2 separate regions of the Homo sapiens genome follow, and region 1 is linked to region 2. Evidence: promoter capture Hi-C in 16 types of primary human blood cells and fetal thymus (Javierre and others, 2016). All regions are on one chromosome and are shown on one strand. The core of a region is centred on a gene start or on the middle of the fragment in contact, and the rest is flanking DNA. Distances in the headings are between cores, read along the strand shown. Region 1 holds the start of IL2RG (interleukin 2 receptor subunit gamma). Region 2 overlaps NONO (non-POU domain containing octamer binding).

Region 1 (3,295 bases), core at 1-2,500, 180 kb before region 2:
CCTGGCCTAGACAAGTCAGGATCCTGAAGGTAGTGCCCCTAATACCTCCTCCCTTCCCATCATGATCCCCTACCTCCTCTTTTCTGCCCATGTACCCTTATGATAAAAGAACACTACTCTGTAGACTCCAATGTCCCACAGTATCCCTGGTCTCTTGACCCTTTCTTTCCAAATTACCCAGATTCTGCAGTTTTAGCATCTGTGTGGCCTGTCTCCTGGGTTCCCGTGGGTCCTGGAGCTGAACAACAAATGTTTGGTAGAGGTGGATCTCCTTTTTTTGCAACTGACAGCCAGAAGTGATTTCTTCAGAGAATAGATAGTGGCTGCACTTCTGGACTTTATCATTATCCGAGTTCTTGTACCTAGAGGAGAAAGGTTGGAAGGAAGAGGAACAGTGGGGCCAATCTGGGTACTGCAGATATCCAGAGCCTAGCCTCATCTCCCCTCAACCGACTTATGACTTACCCCAGGAGAAAACAGTGGGGTACCTGGGAGACTTGCTACCCTCTCTCTTGGTCTCTGATCCAACCCACCTCTTCTTCATCCCCTCCCCCTCGTCCCTTCTCATACCAATAATGCAGAGTGAGGTTGGTAGGCTGGGGCTCAGAGCTGCTGTTCCAAGTGCAATTCATGTACTCGACATTGAACACAAAACACTGAACCTCTGGGAGGGGCAGAGTGGAAACACTGAGGGAGTCAGTGGGCATAGTGGTCAGGAAGAAATCTAGATTGGGGAGAAAATGAAGGCAGGGAGGGAAAGAGAAATGATGGTCAGAAGGAGGAGGCCAAGCACGGTGGCTCATGTCTGTAATCCTGGTGCTTTGAAAGGCTGAGGCAGGAGGATCACTAGAGGCCAGGAGTTTGAGACCAGCCTAGGCAACATAGTGAGACCCTGCCTCAAAAGAAAGAAAGAAACAAACAAACAAGAAAGAAAGAAGAAGTAGCGTGAGGCAGGGAACCCTCCCCCTTGCCCTTCCCACTCCACTTTTCAATTCTGCCCACATGATTGTAATGGCCAGTGGCAGGCACCAGATCTCTGTACGGCCCCTTCCCACAGCCACCCTTCTCACCAGCCCCCTCCAGTCCCAGATTTCCCACCAGCTGTGGTGTCTTCATTCCCATTGGGCGTCAGAATTGTCGTGTTCAGCCCCACTCCCAGCAGGGGCAGCTGCAGGAATAAGAGGGATGTGAATGGTAATGATGGCTTCAACATGGCGCTTGCTCTTCATTCCCTGGGTGTAGTCTGTCTGTGTCAGGAACCTGGGTCCCTCACCCACTACCCCTCCCCACCCACACGTTTCCTCTGTCATAGCTTCCGGTGGAAAGAACCTTATAAACCAGGGCTTTACAGAGGGTGTGGCAAATATGTGCTGTGTGACACGGGCTAAGTCCTCTAGGAGATTAGGTGCTGCTGTAAGGTGGTAAACAGAAACTAAAGCTGGATATACAATAGTGTCACAGACTCAAAAATCCTCAGCCCACCTAGATCCTGGGAAGGATCTGTTCACTACCACTAGCACCATTCTCAACCACCTTCTCCTCTAAATCATTACCTTCTATAATGGAAGTTCTGAACCCCCACCCCCGACATCACCGTTCTATGCCATGCCTCTTCCTTGACTTGGTCACCCTTAAATCTCTGTCAAAGCTCTACTGTTTTGGGAGGATGGAAAATACCGTCTTGGCTCCTGTGGGCACATATACAGCTGTCTTTCCTCTGATCTAATCCAAACCAGAATACCCACCCTTAGCTGCTGCCTGAGCTGGGTCCCTGTTGAGACTGGCGAGGAAGTGTGACTTATAATACAAAAATATTCTAGAAATGGAGGAACAACAATACTAGCTTCAAGCTTCCCATCTTCCCCCAACTCTGCTTCTCTTCCTGCCTTCCCCACCTCAGTCAATGGTATCGTCACCCTCTCAGTCACCCAGACTTGAAACCTCAGAATCAGCTTCAATTTCTCCCCCTCTCTCACCCAGAGAATATAACCCACTCTGCTTCTGTGGTGTTTCTCCCAACGGTTTCCTCCTTTCCATTACCACAGCCACTCTGCTAAATCAGTCTTTCATTAGCTCTAGTCATGATTCTATCTAGACTCCATCAACTGGCCTCCCTTTCTAAAGGCCCTCTGCTCTCTAATCCATTCTTCATCCTGTTGCCAGTTTTACCTTCCCCGAAAACACAGAGGTGATTGGAGAAGCCACTTACAGAAACTATTTATTCAGCAAACATTTATTACGTTTTTAATATGTGCCAGGCACTGTGCTTATGTTCTGGAAATAGACCAACAAGACATCCTCATATTTCTAGACACTCACAGAAAAGTGGGGAAGACATAAACAAGTAATACAACATAGTGTAACAAGTCCTATAGCATAAATGTAGAGATACTACAAAGTATGTGAGCACAGAAGAGGAAGTAACTAAATTTACCAAGATGGAGAGGGGGATAGTTTAGTGAAGGCTGTGCTGAAGAGGTGCTATTTCAGTGGCATCTTAAAGAATGAGTGTAATTTTACCAGACAGAAAGTGGTGTAGGATATTAAGCAAAGAAAAACAGCACTTGCCTGGGAGTCTCAGGAAAACTGGACTATATGGCCCAGCTTAGTATTTAGTATGTATCTTTAGTATGTATTAGTTTGCTAGGGCTGCCATAAGTTATCCCCAAACTGAGTGGCTTAAACCAACAGAAATTTATTCTCTCGGCTGGGTGCAGTGACTCACGCCTGCAATCCCAGCACTTTGGGAGGCCAAGGCAGGTGGATTGCTTGAGGAGTTCGAGACCAGCCTGGCCAACCTGGTGAAACCCCGTCTCTACTAAAAATACAAAAATTAGCCAGACATGGTGGCAACACCTGTAATCCCAGCTACTCGGGAGGCTGAAACATGAGAATCGCTTGAATCTAGGAGGCAGAGGTTGCAGTGAGCCAAAATTGCGCCACTGCACTCTAGCCTGTGCAACAGAGTGAGACTCCATCTCAAATAAATAAATAAATAAATAAATAAAAATTTTTTAAAAAGGAAAAAAAGGCATTTATTTTCTCACAGTTCTGGAGCCCAGAAGTCCGAAATCAGTGTGGCCAGGGTTGGTCCCTTCTGGAGGCGCTGAGGAAGAAGTTGTTCCATGCCTCTCTTCTAGCTTCTGGTGGCTGCCGTCGATCCTTGGTGCTCCTTGGCTTGTAGACACATCATTCCAATCTCTGCCTCCATCTTTGCATTACCTCTTCTTCTTCTCTGCATCTCCTTTATCCTTCTCTTCTCTTACAGGGACACCTGTCATTGGATTTATGGCCC
Region 2 (3,573 bases), core at 1,074-3,573:
TGTTTTCTGGATGATCTGTTGTCATTGGGAGAATAATACCTATGAAATTGATGATCACCTAAGTGTTATTGACTTCTAGAACTACATGTGATTTATTGCAAGGCCATCAGAAGCAAACTAGGGTGGCCAAAGAGCTGAAGCACACAGTTAAGTTCTTTCACTTCTGTTTCTTTGTATGGTTGTTTAGTTTTTCCGGGGAGATATTGAACTATACTGCTTTAGACTGTTGATGGCTGCTAAGGTGTTCTTTGTCAAACTGAGTTATTCTGATTTTCCTCTGCTTCCTAGGAAACCCGAACCCTAGCGGAGATTGCCAAAGTGGAGCTGGACAATATGCCACTCCGTGGAAAGCAGCTGCGTGTGCGCTTTGCCTGCCATAGTGCATCCCTTACAGTTCGAAACCTTCCTCAGTATGTGTCCAACGAACTGCTGGAAGAAGCCTTTTCTGTGTTTGGCCAGGTAGAGAGGGCTGTAGTCATTGTGGATGATCGAGGAAGGCCCTCAGGAAAAGGCATTGTTGAGTTCTCAGGGAAGCCAGCTGCTCGGAAAGCTCTGGACAGATGCAGTGAAGGCTCCTTCCTGCTAACCACGTAAGTGAGGGTCATTTTCAGACGTAGACCTTAGATTGCTAATTCCTTCCATGGTCTGGAGAGTTAGCCTCTAGTAACCACTTTTCTATGTTTAAAGACTTTTGGTCAGCCTGGCATGGTGGCTGACTCCTGTAATCCCAGCACTTTGGGAGGCCGGGGCAGGCGGATCACCTGAGGTCAGGAGTTGGAGACCAGCCTGACCAACATGGTGAAACCCTGTCTCTACTAAAAATACAAAAAATTAGCCAAACATGGTGGCGTGTGCCTGTATTCCCAGCTACTTGGGAGGCTGAGGCAGGAGAATCGCTTGAACCCAGGAGGCAGAGGTTGCAGCGAGCTGAGATCACGCCACTGCACTCCAGCCTGGGCAACAGAGTGAAACTGCCTCAAAAAAATAAATAAAAGACTGGGCAAAACAGCGGCTCACGCCTGTAATCCCAGCAATTTGGGAGGCCGAGGCGGGCAGATCATGAGTTGAGGAGATCAAGACCATCCTGGCCAACATGCTGAAAGCCCGTCTCTACTAAAAATACAAATAAATAAAATAAAAATACCAAAATTAGCGCACATGTAGTCCCAGCAACTTGGGAGGCTGAGGCAGGAGAATCACTTGAACCTGGAAGGCAGAGGTTGCAGTGAGCCGAGATTGTGCCATTGCACTCCAGCCTGGCGATAGAGCAAGACTCTGTCTCAAAAAAAAAAAAAAAAAAAAGACTTTTGGCCCAGGCGGGACAGATCACCAGGTCAGGAGATCGAGACCATCCTGGCTAACACGGTGAAACCCCGTCTCTACTAAAAAATACAACAAATTAGCCGGGTGTGGTGGCGGGCGCCTGTTGTCCCAGCTACTCTGGAGGCTGAGGCAGGAGAATGGCGTGAACCTGGGAGGTGGAGCTTGCAGTGAGCCGAGATTGCGCCACTGCACTCCAGCCTGGGCAAGAGAACAAGACTCCGTCTCCAAAAAAAAAGACTTTTGGTATTAGCCTGGGCATGGTGGCTCATGCCTGTAATACCAACACTTCAGGAGGCTGAGGCGGGTGAATCACGAGGTCCTGAGTTTGAGACCAGCCTGGCCAAGGTGGTGAAACCCCGTCTCTACTAAAAATACAAAAAGTAGCTGGACGCGGTGGTGGGCGCCTGTGATCCCAGCTACTCGGGAGGCTGAGGCAGGAGAATCACTTGAACCCGGGAGGCAGAGGTTGCAGTGAGCCGACATTGCACCACTGCACTCTAGCCTGGGCGACAGAGGAAGACTCCGTTTCCAAAAAAAAAGACTTTTGGTACTAAGCTTTCTCGTATGATTTTTCTGTAATCTTATATTAATAGACGTGGGATGACGATTATGAAAAATAACTTTTTAGTCATTCGGTAGGTTGTCATGTAGTCAGTGTTAAGTCTCTCTTTACTTTGAAGATTTAGAGTTCTGAAAAGTTGATTTGTGCCTGCAGTATCTCTTAGTGTTTACCACAAGTCATTTCTCAGAGTGTCTGTAGATGTTTAGGCTGTACTTAAGTACTGCACCTACCTACTTGGAATATCTTTTTGAGACTGTATTCAGAGATCTAAGTCCTGATTTCGTCCTGTCAACCCCAGATTTTCTTTTTTCTTTTTCTTTTCTTTTTTTTTTTTTTTTTGAGACAGTCTCACTCTGTAGCCCGGGCTAGAGTGGTGCAGTGGCACAATCTCGGCTCATTTCAACCTCTGTCTCCCGGGTCCAAGTGATTCTCCTGCCTCAGCCTCCCAAGTAGCTGGGATTACAGACGTCCGTAGAGTCAGGGTTTCACCATGTTGGCCAGGCTTGTCTTGAACTCCTGACCTCATGATTCACCCGCCTCGTCCTCCCAAAGTGCTGGGATTACAGGCGTGAGCCACCACCCCCAGCCCAACCCCAAATTTTTTATAATGTCATTAGGTATAAAAACTTCAGAAGCCTCCAATCCTGAGCCCTAGCTAATTCATTGTGCCAGTGACATGTGTAGAGAAGAAGCCTGGTGGGGTATGATTTGATTAACACTGAACTTTGTTCTTTCTTCCAGATTTCCTCGTCCTGTGACTGTGGAGCCCATGGACCAGTTAGATGATGAAGAGGGACTTCCAGAGAAGCTGGTTATAAAAAACCAGCAATTTCACAAGTATGCAGTCTTGATAGATTTCCCTATTAGGTGTTTCCTTCTTAAGAAAGCTTATAAAGGGATATGTAAAAGAGGCAGGTCTTTGCTGCACATGTTCACTGGCAGCCATTATCTTGGTCCTCACAAGGAATGCAATTCTTAGCTGGGGTAATTCTGGACAAAGTTAGTAACCTAGGAACCTTGCCTATAGGGAACGAGAGCAGCCACCCAGATTTGCACAGCCTGGCTCCTTTGAGTATGAATATGCCATGCGCTGGAAGGCACTCATTGAGATGGAGAAGCAGCAGCAGGACCAAGTGGACCGCAACATCAAGGAGGCTCGTGAGAAGCTGGAGATGGAGATGGAAGCTGCACGCCATGAGCACCAGGTCATGCTAATGAGACAGGGTGAGTCTAGGCCTGTAAGTCTTAAAGCTGAAAGGACAAAATGACATTTTTAAATGGGTTTCTTTGTATCAATTAACAGAAGGGCCTACATCTCTGCTTTTATACTTAGTTTGCGTTGATTTTGGTAGATAAATAGGCTTGGAGATGTGGCAGAGATACTGGATTCTGTGGAGAAGGAAATGATAGGTATAACTTCATTTTGGAATCTGGACACCACAGGTGGTTCCAAAGGAATTAGATCCTCTTTGCTTTCTGGATCTTTATTTGAAGAAAGTCATTAGATCTATATGAAGACAATGAGGAATATTCTTAGTCTGTTGTTTTTTTAGATTTGATGAGGCGCCAAGAAGAACTTCGGAGGATGGAAGAGCTGCACAACCAAGAGGTGCAAAAACGAAAGCAACTGGAGCTCAGGTAACTTTTCTCGAACACTTTTTCCCTAACAACTCTAAAAGGTAATGTCT

The links. Contacts are between HindIII fragments. The CHiCAGO score rates a contact against its expected background, and 5 or more counts as called.
Region 1: the fragment with the promoter of IL2RG here is called in contact with a fragment that was not itself captured in region 2 in 7 of 17 cell types (total B cells, naive CD4 T cells, non-activated CD4 T cells and 4 more); the score reaches 10.7 in total B cells.

Annotation. Positions count from the first base shown.
Region 1 is chrX:71,110,327-71,113,621 of GRCh38, forward strand. It overlaps IL2RG (interleukin 2 receptor subunit gamma), which reads right to left and starts at 1,251. Exons shown (of 8, transcript NM_000206.3): 1 at 1,099-1,251; 2 at 571-724; 3 at 178-362. The coding sequence starts at 1,213. RefSeq lists enhancers at 712-1,911, 1,014-1,403. The HindIII fragment of the contact is 3,788 bases long and covers 1-1,848 here.
Region 2 is chrX:71,293,939-71,297,511 of GRCh38, forward strand. It overlaps NONO (non-POU domain containing octamer binding), which reads left to right. Exons shown (of 12, transcript NM_007363.5): 5 at 289-590; 6 at 2,627-2,722; 7 at 2,913-3,109; 8 at 3,439-3,523. Among named protein-coding and RNA genes, the nearest start is that of ITGB1BP2, 6.0 kb to the right of the region's middle. The HindIII fragment of the contact is 894 bases long and covers 1,877-2,770 here.